2 separate regions of the Homo sapiens genome follow, and region 2 is linked to region 1. Evidence: promoter capture Hi-C in 16 types of primary human blood cells and fetal thymus (Javierre and others, 2016). All regions are on one chromosome and are shown on one strand. The core of a region is centred on a gene start or on the middle of the fragment in contact, and the rest is flanking DNA. Distances in the headings are between cores, read along the strand shown. Region 1 overlaps LAMP3 (lysosomal associated membrane protein 3). Region 2 holds the start of YEATS2 (YEATS domain containing 2).

The links. Contacts are between HindIII fragments. The CHiCAGO score rates a contact against its expected background, and 5 or more counts as called.
Region 2: a contact is called between the fragment with the promoter of YEATS2 here and a fragment that was not itself captured in region 1, in 1 of 17 cell types (erythroblasts). The highest score is 5.9, in erythroblasts.

The regions. Positions count from the first base shown.
Region 1 is chr3:183,121,858-183,128,031 of GRCh38, forward strand. LAMP3 (lysosomal associated membrane protein 3) reads right to left here. Exons shown (of 6, transcript NM_014398.4): 6 at 358-2,357. The coding sequence ends at 2,224. Among named protein-coding and RNA genes, the nearest start is that of MCCC1, 25 kb to the left of the region's middle. The HindIII fragment of the contact is 1,275 bases long and covers 2,457-3,731 here.
Region 2 is chr3:183,695,221-183,701,394 of GRCh38, forward strand. It overlaps YEATS2 (YEATS domain containing 2), which reads left to right and starts at 2,577. Exons shown (of 31, transcript NM_018023.5): 1 at 2,577-2,773. RefSeq lists a silencer at 2,482-2,951. The HindIII fragment of the contact is 10,471 bases long and covers 1-6,174 here.

The DNA.
Region 1 (6,174 bases), core at 1,844-4,343:
TATGGGTAACTAATATAGGACCTCTTATTTATCTCAGCTCCTACAAGAGTATCTGGCATTTAGCAAATCCTTATCAATGCTGATCAAATGAATGAATGAACAAACGTGGCGACATTTAAGCAAACTAGTAATGCAGTCAGTCTAAGCTAAGAGTTGAGACATTTCATATGTAACTTTAATGTGGTTTATCTTCTCAGGAATTCCTACCAAGTGATAATGTGGCAATGGAGAATAGAATGAAACAAATTATAGAAAGATGATTTAACTTATTGATCGGAGCAAAAACCTAAGATGATTGTAAACAAAATTTATACAGCACAAAAATGAATCATAAAAAATAAATGACATGCACAAATCTCCAAAGTAAGTTTTTATTACAAAAACCTTTACTACAATTCAATGTTTTATTAAGACTAAAGTCAGGACCTTGCCAACTTACTGAGTCATAAGGAAACACATGAGGAAAGTCAACATGGTCTCTAGGCTGACTTGAATTATTCCTTGACTAAGAATTCTAGGGTTATGTGGACTTTTCTGTTAACATCCTGACTTAGTTCCTTTCTTTAGCAGCAAAAAAAACAGCAGAAATAAAATTCTTGGCAGGCTGCTCTACAGAATAAAGTGAACAATAGGAAATATGGATATGAAGTGCAGAAGCAGCAAGTTACCACAAGATGGGGCTATACACTCAAGAAAGAACAGTTGGTTAGCGAAGTTTCTCTATTATCAAAAAAATTTAAAAATACTTTGAGTTTATTTGATGCCTTCATCTTTACAGCCCAGCTAAGCAATCCCATAAAAATGAGCAACTGACTAATGTTTTACAAAGCCCCTCAGTCTCCTTCCAGAGAGTGGAGGATTTATTAAGGATAGGCTATTTTGTTATCTGCAAAGCTCTCCTTTCATCTACCCTAATGTCTCATGATCCTGGATAAACCCATTTCCCTGTAAGGTGAGCGTATGCTGGTATGAGGTGTGAGCCTTCAGGCAGAGTGTGGTGTCATTGTTCTTGTAGGTAACTTGGTGTAGGGAGAAGACCAAAGACCTTGATGTCAGACCAACATGAATTCAAGCTCTGGCTCTGCCATCAGTTAGCCAGGTGACATTTAAGTGATTCAGTTCCCTTAAGTCTCAGTTTACTCATTCACCTATAAGTTGTGAGAATGAAATGAGATATAGATAAAGTGCTTAGCCTAGACTCTGGCACTTTGTTAATAATTAAGGGCCATTATTATTGTCTCTTGCTTATTGTTTAGTTCTACCATCTGTAGCCACCTAATTCTTAGTCTAGCGATTCTGGAGCAGGAGTCATCAAGATAAAAAATATAAGCTGATTTGTTCTTTTTGTTGGTTTTACATAAAAACACTTAGACAACCTGAGATATGTTGTTCTTTTTGATGATTAAAAAAAACATTTAAGGCCGGGCGCAATGGCTCATGCCTGTAATCCCAGCACTTTGGGAGGCTGAGGTGGGTGGATCACCTGAGGTCAAGAGTTCAAGACCAGTCTGGCCAACATGGTGAAACCCCGTCTATAATAAAAATACAAAAATTAGCCAGGCGTGGTAGTGTGTGCCTGTAATCCCAGCTACTCGGGAAGCTGAAGCAGGAGAATCACTTGAACCCGGGAGGCGGAGGTTGCCATAAGCCGAGATCGTGCCACTGTACTCCAGCCTGGGTGACAAGAGTGAAACTCCGTCTCAAAAAACAAAAACAAATTTAAAGTGGAAAAGGAGTTAAGTGCTACACCAGGAATATGTATGTTACATGAAACCATAAAACACAGATAGTAAAAGCACTGAAAGTCCATTTGATAACAAAGCAAAGGCTTTGTTAAGATCAAGGGTAAAATAAAATCTTCAATGCACACACAGTAGTATTAGTTACAATTGACCCTTGGTTTATAATTTGAAGGCTTATTCTACTTTACATATATTATGTTAATTCAACATATCTCAAATGTTGACTTTGAGTGGCTAAAATATTCTAAAGGAAACTAGAAAATAAACAGCTCACTATATCTTTCATAAAATAAACAAAAAGTATTTAGAAATTGATGTGCTGCCTGAACTTAAATCACACATGACTCACTTCATTTGAATAGAAGATGGTGGTTTACATTGTTTGAAGGACCCACACTCTGAGGGAATTTCCCAACATCCATCCTGGAAGGGATGAAAGAGTTCTCTAAATTCCATTATTTTCATTCCCCCCGGGCAACAATTAGATTCTCTGGTATCCAGATGATTGACACCTTAGGCGGATTTTATAGACACCCATACCCATAAGGCAGAGACCAACCACGATGGCCCCAATCACAGGAAGCACAATTGTGTAGTCAGACGAGCACTCATCCACTAAGAGAGAAAACAAATACAATACAGTGGGTAAGGTTTGGTGATGCAGTCCAGAAAGCAGGCTAGAGGGGAAAGAAGATGAGCTTTGGCATCAAACAAAGCTTGACTTTTAACTCCACCATTAACTAGCTTTGTGACCTTGGGCAGGTAATTTACCCTTGCAATTTCCTAATTTATAAAGTAAGCAAATAATATGTAAGACTGTCAGAAGATTAAATAACCATATTTTCTTAGTAATTAACATTCAATAATCATAATCCTTATTTCCTGAACTGAGTAAGAAGTCACTCCAGGCATACTCCCTGCTAAGTGGGATATGCTTACATAAAAGAGACCAGCCGGGCACAGTGGCTCACGCCTGTAATCCCAGCACTTTGGGAGGCCGAGGCGGGCGGATCATCTGATGTCGTGAGTTTGAGACCAGCCTGACCAACATGGAGAAACCCCATCTCTACTAAGAATACAAAATTAGCCGGGCGTGGTGGCACATGCCTGTAATCCCAGCTACTCGGGAGGCTGAGGCAGGAGAATTGCTTGAACCCGGGAGGCAGAGGTTGCGGTGAGCCGAGATCACACCATTGCACTCCAGCCTGGGCAACAAGAGCGAAACTCCATCTCAAAAACAAACAAACAAACAAACAAAAAACATTTGTGTGACCAGTGACCAGATTACAGATGATCTCTTGAGAAACATGATTTTTATCCACTTTATAAAACATTTTTGTCACTCCTAAGGTTCTATTGTATTACTTTTAGCTAATATTAGAAAACAGACCAAATTATTTATGAGAGCTTAAAAGTGAGAGTTTACAAACTTATCAAGACTGTTTTTTCTTTATACCATTAGAAAACGCTTACTCAATTCATTTAATGTAATTGATTGGGTCAGAGACTAATAAATCTCAACCGAGGAAAGACGGAGGGGTCTGGGGTAAAAGGGGAAGTTGATAGAATACTCTAATGAAGAGACTGGGAGAAAAGAGCAAATAAATGAAGAACCATGTCTTAGTCATTATAGCTAAAAAGATACATGTGTGAGGTCATTGTACGAACTAACACTGAAATTATGTCCTGAACCAAGGATCACCATCAACCCAATTCAGTGTACCTGAGATCTGAGAAAAAAAGTATCAGAAGAGGTCAGAGAAGACAGAGTGGCAATTAATTAAAGATTCCAGGAAAAAGAAAATTTGGACAAGAAAGAAACTGTGATTGTAGTACACGATTTGGCTTGACAGCAGACAATATTTATAAAACTATAATAATGTGTGCCTTAATACCTTACTGATTTACCCAAAAATAGTTGTGTAACCACAAATCTTTATGTGCTATAGCAGGAAGTCTAAAATGGATCAATTAGGAACTATCATGATAAGCTTTTATTTTTTAGAGTTATGGAGATAGCAATCAGAAGAAATTGTTAAAATTAGTTAAAAGTATCTTGTATCTTGGGGCAGGGAGGCAGAGGGACAGAGAAATGTTGCTTTCCATGATAAGACCTTTTGGAGTACATGAAACTTTGTTACTTATATATGTTTCTCTTTTTTTGCAGCCTGGAACTCCTGACTTCAAGCCATCCTCCCACCTCATCCTCTTGGGACTAGGGGTGTGTGCTACCATGCTGGGCCAATTTTTTATTTTTTACAGATGGGGTCTTGCTATGTGGCCCAGGCTGGTTTCAAACTCCTGGGCTGAAGCAATCCTTGACTTCCCAAAGTGCTGGGATTACAGGCGTGAGCCACCACACTTGGCCTATATTTCTTAAACGAAAAAAGAACTTTGACAAGTTAAGGAATTAAAATGAGTGGGAAAAAATACAAAAAGTTAAAACAAAATGTAATGCACACACCTGTTGACCCAATAATTCTATCTCTAGGAAATTATCCCAAAGATATATTCATACACTATGCAAAGGTATATTACAGCACTGTCCATTTTATGAGACAATTTAAATATACGTAAAAACTAAAATAGTATTCAGACAATAGAAAATAATATAGCCATTAAAAAGAACGTGGTAGGTCTCGGTGTTCTGTAACAGAAGTTCCTTAAGCTCCGTGAAGTATCATGTGAACCCAAACCCATGTGCTTGTGGGTCCAGTGTGAAAAGATACACCAAAAACTGGCAGGAGGACTGGGAAGGAAGTGGAGGGCAACTTTTACTCTCTCTTGTTAAGCTATTAAATTATTTAACATTGTTTAAACATTTCTAAAATGCAAAAGAGTACACAAAGAAAAGAAGTGACTGATCCAATCACCCCATTTCTTCTATTTGAATCAATCACTATAAACCTTTTTGGGCATGTAGTTCCTCTGTGAATGTGTGTGTGTGTGTGTGTGTGTGTGTGTGCACACGTGTGCATGTGTGCAAACTCACGTGCATGCTTAAAGCAAAATCACTCTATTTTAAATAGTCTATTCTCATTATAAATAACTAAAATAATAGAGAAAAAGCACAAACAAAAAAGTAAAACCAATTACCCCAAGACCATCCACCAAGAAATGTCATTGCTAATATGGAGAAACATTATTTCAGGCCTCTTTCTTTAGAACTACAAGGATAGATAGGTTAGAAAAATAAATAGAAATACTTTTATTAAGATAGGATCATACAAGTACTATTTTATTACATTTGTTAATTTCAATTTTACTTGTGTTTAATAGGATAAAAGAACTTGAAGGAATTATCACAAACCAATGTTTCTTTGTCATGGGAAATATTGGTTCATAAAGGGTCCCTTTAGAGTTCTAAAAAGAGATTATGAAGTATGCATTAAACAATTATGAAATACATTAAGAGGTTATGAAATAAATTGGACTTGTGTTTACTAAACTTCGTTTCCAGTTTAAACATTATCTATTGATACTGTTTTGAAAGAGTAGCACTAACAGAGTCCCTTCCATCTCCCCTCTCTTCAACTCCCCCAATTTTTTTTTTGAGACAGGGTCTTGCTCTGTTGCCCAGGCTGGGGGGCAGTGGTGCGATCATAGCTCACTGAAGCCTCCAGCTCCTGAGGTCAGCCATCCTCCCACCTCAGCTTCTCAAGTAGCTAGTAGTACAGGCAAATGCCACCCCACTCAGCTACTTTTTAACTTTTTTGAAGAGATGGGGTCCTTACTATGTTGCTCAGGCTGGTCTTGAACTCCTGGCCTCAAGTGATCCTCCAACCTCGGCCTCCCAAAGTTTCAGGTGTGAGACACTGTGCCCAGACAACTCCAAATTTTGAATAGTTATGTCACTGTTTTTAACATTGTCTATGTTTTTTTTTTCTTTTTTAAAAAGTAAACTGATTTTATTGTGAAATTCTCATAGATGGAAAATTAAATCAAACATTTATTCTGTCCATTTCATTTTATAATAACCTTATCACTGATTTTTGTACCATGCATTTCAATGGCCTGTTAAATGAAAAATGTTTTAAAAACTTTTAATTTTTGATGTTTTTAGCTTAAATTTTTTCATTAAGAAGCCCACAGTGCCAGCAGCCGCCCCCCAAGCCCTGTGTGAACAACGTTTTGGTTGCTATTTCAACTTAAGGAAACAATCTTTGACCTTGATCCATTGTCCAGGTTTATGACACTTCAATTCTATTTGATAACTATCATTCCTGTAGTCTTTAAAATGTGTTCTGACTGGCTGGGCACGGTGGCTCACGCCTGTAATCCCAGCACTTTGGGAGGCTGAGGCAGGTGGATCTCAAGGTCAGGAGATCGAGACCATTCTGGCTAACACAGTGAAACCCCGTCTCTACTAAAAATATGAAAAATAAAATAAAATAAAAAAATAACCAGTTGTGGTGGCAGGCGCCTGTAGTCC
Region 2 (6,174 bases), core at 1,327-3,826, 570 kb after region 1:
AAGGGCAAATAGGCTGGGTGTGGTGTCTCACGCCTGTAATCCCAGCACTTTGGGAGGCTGAGGCGGGCAGATTACGAGATGAGGAGATCGAGACCATTCTGGCTAACGCAGTGAAACCCCGTCTCTACTAAAAATACAGAAAATTAGCCGGGCATGGTGGCACGCGCCTGTAGTCCCAGCTACTCGGGAGGGTGAGGCAGGAGAATCACTTAAACCCAGGAGGCGGAGGTTGCAGTGAGCCAAGATCATACCACTGCACTCCAGCCTGGGCAATAGAGCAAGACTCAGTCTCAAAAGAAAAAAAAAAAGTTTCATTTTGGTGAATATTTGGGTAAACAGTTCAAAGTTGTAGTCTTATCAGAACTTTACCCTTCTTCCCCTTGACTTCCCAAGGCGGCCTACAGGATACAGGGGAAGCCTCAAGGCAGCGGTGGGAGGGGAGATCTGTGTGCGGGATTTCAAGCTATAGCCTGGGTTCTCACTGGCCTCTGCTGCTATGTCTCTGGTGACTTCTGGTCTCCACTGCCCTGCAGGCATCAGCTGCTGAGGTGGTTGGTTGGCAAGCTCATGACCTGTTGCTTTAGCACCTTCAGAGTTTGATGTCTCATCTTTCATCCCCACTCCTCCATCCCCGCTCCTCTCACCAGCTGACTTAGGGGTGCTTCAGCTCCACTGGTATCTTCAGTACTGCCTATCCTTGGGGTCTTAGCTACGTTCTGTAGCCATTCCCTGGCCATCAGCCCACCACAAGGCCTCTGCTTTAGGAAACCTGCCCCCTGGCACAGTGCCTATTGGTCTGTCCATGGCTCTTAACCATGCTACTTTCTGCATGCCAGGCAGGGAGCAACAAGAGAAGTCTGGAATTCTGACATACCTAAATGTGCAAGCTGCAGCGCTCCAGCAGCACTATTGCAGACTCCTCCCAACGCCATGGCCTGCTCCCAAGCCCTACTGTGTGAGCCTTCTCACAGACTTGGACAGCCTTCCAAGCTACACCAAGGGAAGTCAGCTTCTAGCTTTCTTGGCACTTATCTGGGTATTTCTATGCTTTCCACCTCACTGTTAAACCCTAAGAGTAGGGGAACACCAACACACTCATCCTGACCTGTGACCTCACCCCCTTCTCCATGAAATTTGTTTATCTCCCCAGTTCCTATTATCTCTTGAGTCTTAGCTTAAGGTTCAAGGAAGCCTTTCTTAGTTTTTTTTTTTTTTGAGATGGAGTTTCACTTTTGTTGCCCATGTTGGAGTGCAATGGCTCACTGCAACCTCCACCTCCCGAGTTCAAGTGACTGTCCTGCCTCAGCTTCCCAAGTAGTTAGGATTACAGGCATGCCCAAATACACCTGGCTAATTTTTGTATTTTTAGTAGAGACGGGGTTTCACCATGTTGGCCAGGTTGGTCTTGAACTCCTGACCTCAGGTGATCCGCCCGCCTCAGCCTCCCAAAGTGCTGGGATTACAGGCATGAGCCACCGTGCCCAGCCAGGAGGATCTCTCGAGCCCGGAAGTGTGAGACTAGCTGTGGTGATAGTGAGACCTGTCTAAAAAAACCAAAATTAGCCTGGGGGTGGTGGTTCACGCCTGTAATCCCAGCACTTTGGGAGGCTGAGGCGGGTGGATCACCTAAGGTCAGGAGTTCGAGAGCAGCCTGGCCAACATGGTGAAACCCTGTCTCTACTAAAAATACAAAAATCAGCCAGGCGTGGTGGCGCGCGCCTTGTAATCCCAGCTACTTGGGAGGCTGAGGCAGGAGAATCGCTTGAACCCGGGAGGCGGAGGCTGCAGTGAGCCAAGATCATGCCACTGCACTCCAGCCTGGCAACAGAGGGAGACTCTATCTCAAAAAAAAAAAAAAACACAAAAAACAAAACACCACTTATATTTATTATGCGTTGATAAAAACATTAAATACATTAAAAATTTGGTAACATGTATGTAAAGTATAAAAAAAAAAGTGAACTTCCTAAACCCACCACTCAGCTCCAGTAGTAAATCGTTATACAGTGAGAAGGGATTGAAGGGGAACAGAAGTTCCCCAAGACCAGTTGGGAGGCTATTCATAGTCTTGGGCAGAGAGATTACAGGGTCTTGGGTAGGGTGGTAGAGTTACAACGAAAGAGAATGTTGGCCTCAAGTGATATTTAGGTGGAAAACTGGACTTGGATTGTCACTAGCTAGTGTGACTGAGATAAGTCTCAAGCCTTCCCTGCCTCAGTTTCTTCATCTGTAAAATGGGCTAGAAATAACTACTGTTATTTTGTATACCCAGCACTTAGCACATGGGTTGGCACAAAGATGGCACACACAAACATCATAGTCACTATTGTGATTAATAGGGAAGCTCATACACGCCGGCAGAATGAATATTCTGTCAAACTTGGGGTTGAAATTCGCCATCTTCTGGGGCAGGAAAGTGATGGACGACTGTGCCTTTGCAAGAATCGACGCCCACACTGCCCAGGAAGTGCCCTCGCGGGCCGGGGTCCCAGCCCGGACCAGCCCCGCCCCGCCCCGCCCCGCCCTCATCCCTGGGAGCTCCGCCCCGAGGCCGCGCGCGCCGCCGCGCGCGCCCCGACGCGCCCAGCTGCTGACGTGCGGGGCGGAACGCGCCGGGCGGGCTCCACCGCGCCGTGTGCTTCCGCAGGTTGCGGGGGTCGCTGGGGCCTTGTGGCGGGGCAGCTCCGCGGGGCTTCGCCCGCTCTCTCACCTCGCCGTGCTCTCTCGCGGCGGCCGGCGGGGCCCGCGCTGCAGCCGGAGACCCGGAGAAAGGGTGAGTGTTGGCGGGCGCAGGAAGGGACCGGCCGGGAGCGCGCCCCGCTCTCCGGGGCATTGTTTGGGCGGGGGCGGCGCGGGCACGTGCGCGCCCCTCCCCCATCGGCAGGCAGCGCGGCAGCGGGACCCGGTGAGGCCCCGGGGCCGAGGGGAGGGCAGGGAGGATCCCAGGTGCGGGCCGGGGAGCCGCAGAAGCGGGAGCCTGGAATTGGAACGTGAGTTGGGGGCTTCCTCTTCAGCGGGGCGCTGCGCTGAGGGGATACGGGACCCCGAGCCACAGCGGCCGGAGCTTTTAGGATGTTAAGCTCTTGGCCTTGGAGGCAAGATTTGGCCCCAGCACCAGAAAGTCGTGGGTTTACCGAAAGGATCCTGGAATGCCCCTCCAACCTGTCGCCATCCCCACCGGGCCTCCCTGGGATGGAGGGGAGGGGTCAGAGAGGCTTTGGGGGTCCAGGGATGGGGCCGGGGCCAACGCGCCGGAGCTGCGGGCAGTGCGGGGCGGAGTGGAAGCCTCGGAAAGTGAGGACTCCTGCAGGAAAGGCTGGCTTGAAGGGCTGTGGCCAGACTGCAGAAGACAATGAGGTTTTCTCCATCATGAATGTGATTATGTTAAGAAATAGAAACCAGAGGAAGAGAAATGCCATCAGCAATCTTACAGGCCTGACACATCATTTTTTTTTAGTTTGATGTTGGCTAGTATTTTCATCTAAGCATTCAGCAGTTACAGAGTTGACCCACGTTTTCCATTCCCTTTTCTCGCTCACATGTAAAAAATGCGGTATAATATTATATAGAATTCAGCAATATCATTTCCCCTTTCTTAATGAGTAGAGGGTATTCAGCGTAGAAAAATTTAAAAATACAAGCAAAGCCAGAGAAAAATGCCCGCAGTTTTACGATCTAGAGATACTACCCTTGGATGTATATTCCTGTTTGTGTATACTCTTTAAAAGATAGGGCAGATGATGCCCTGATAAGGAGTTTAGTTTTTCCCGGGAAGCCTTTGAAGGTTTTGAGAAGGCGAGTAGCATGATCCGACTGCTATGTAGAGGAAGAGGGCTGGGGAGGAACCTACGAGGTCAGTTACTGTGCTCTTTGCAGTAGCTTGGACTAGGCCCGTGGCAGGGAGATGGGGAAGTATAAACAGATTTTTAAATGTTTTAAGGTAGAATGAACAAGACTTGGATTGGTGAGGGAATGGTGGGAATCTTTGCTTTTTTGATTTTTGTTTTGAGCAACTGAGTAGGTGGTGGTGCTGTTTACTGAGATGAAGAATGGAAGAGAGAAATTTGAGGTGGGAAAAACGAATTCTATTTTAGATGTATTAAATTTTAGATGCATGTTAGTTATGAAGTCGGTGTGTTGAGGCAGTTGGATGTAGAGGGCTGGAACTCAAGGAGGAGAGAGGCTAGAGCTAGAGATAAAAATCTGGGAGTGGCTGGGCGCGGTGCTCACACCTGAAATCCCAGCACTTTGAGAGACCGAGGCGGGTCGCTTGAGCCCAGATATTCTAGACCAGCCTTGGCTACAAGGCAGGAAGGACCCCGTCTCTTAAAAAAAAAAAAAATTGGGAGTGATCTGTACGTAGATGATATTCAAAGGTATGGTGCTGTGTGAGATCACTGAGGGGAAAGAGTGTGGAGAAGTGAAAAGGGCGCAGACACTCAAATACCTCTAGGTCTGGTAGAGGAAGAAGGTTGGGGAAAGGACGCAGGAAACAGCAAGTGAGGTAGGAGAAAAAGCTCCTACCAAAATGGCATGTATCATGGCAGCCAAAAGAGGTGTTTCTGGAAGATGTTGAATTGGTCCTTTTATCAGGGCTTCTGAGATGTTCATTAAGATTGTCAATTGAATTTGGCAACACGGTGGTTATTGGTTTTGGTCATTGGTCTTCCTGTCCATAGTTCTGGAAGTGGGAGGTGGGAACCGGATGTGAGGAAATGAAACTAATGAGTGCAAATTAGAAAAAAAGTGCCCCATTTCCATCTGCCCCAAAACTAAACTTAATCGATGAAAAATGGTGTCTTGTGTTTTTTTCATTTATTGATTACTAGTATGTTTGAACATTTTTTTCCCATTTATTGGCTGTTTGTGAATTTCTTTTCCTGTTCTCTGTCATCTTTTGTTATTTCCTAATTGATTGTCAAAAGTTCTTTAGATATTAAAAATAGGTAGCTTGACATACAGCATGCAGAGTTCTCCCCACATGTTTCTCAGTTTCAAATGCTTCATGTTCATTCAGTGGATGCATGATATTTTACTGTGGGTTATTTTTTATTATAAAATCCATAGGAAGAAGAGAATTAACATTTAGGTTGTAGATCTCTGAGTGTAGCCCACATACGATGTACATTACCCTGTATTTTCTTAGAATAGATTCTCAGAAATAGTTGGTCCTGTCCTCTTCTCATCAACTACGGATTTTTATTTGAATGTTCATTGCCACGTTCTTGGATTGTTCCCTATCTCCCTGCCTTTGGTCCTGCTCTGCTTTCAGTCTGTTTTCTGTCGTGATACCCAGTAGATGGTGGGAGTTGATGCAGTTTTCTCACAGAAAACAAGACTTGTGAAGCAGATTTTTTCTTTTTCTTTTCTTTTCTTTCTTTTTTTTTTTTTTTTTTGAGACAGAATCACAGTCTGTTGCCCAGGCCTGTAATCCCAGCTGCTCGGGAGGCTGAGGCAGGGGAATTGCTTGAACCCGGGAGGTGGAGGTTGCAGTGAACGGAGATCGCGCCACTGCACTCCAGCCTGGGCGACAGAGGGAGACTTCGTCTCAAAAAAAAAAAAAAAAAAAAAAGGCAGATACAAAAAGCCACGTGCTGTATGATTCTATTTATACGAAATGTCCAGAAACAGGCAAGTTTATCCACACAAAAAGTAGTTGCCAGGGGGATGAAGGGAGAGGAGAATTGAGAGTGACAATTAAGAGGTAAGTGGTTGCTTTTTGGAGTGATGAAAACATTATGGAATTAGATAGTGGTGATTTTTGTGCAACTTTGTGAATATACTGAAATCCACTGAATTGCACTCTTTTAACTGGTGTGTGTATATATATATGTGTGTGTGTGTGTGTGTGTATATATATATAAATTTTTTTTTTTTTTGAGAAGGAGTCTCGCTCTGTCGCCCAGGCTGGAGTGCAGTGGCGCAATCTCAGCTCTCTGCAAGCTCTGCCTCCCGGGTTCACGCCTTTTCCTGCCTCAGCCTCCTGGGTAGGTGGGACTACAGGCACCCACCACCTCGCCTGGCTAAGTTTTTTTGCTTTGTATTTTTATTAGAGACGGGGTTTCACCATGTTAGCCAGGATGATCTCGATCTCCTGACGTCGTGATCTGCCTGCCTTGGCCTCCCAGTGCTGGGATTACAGGCTTGAGCCACCGCGCCCGGCCGGTCAATATA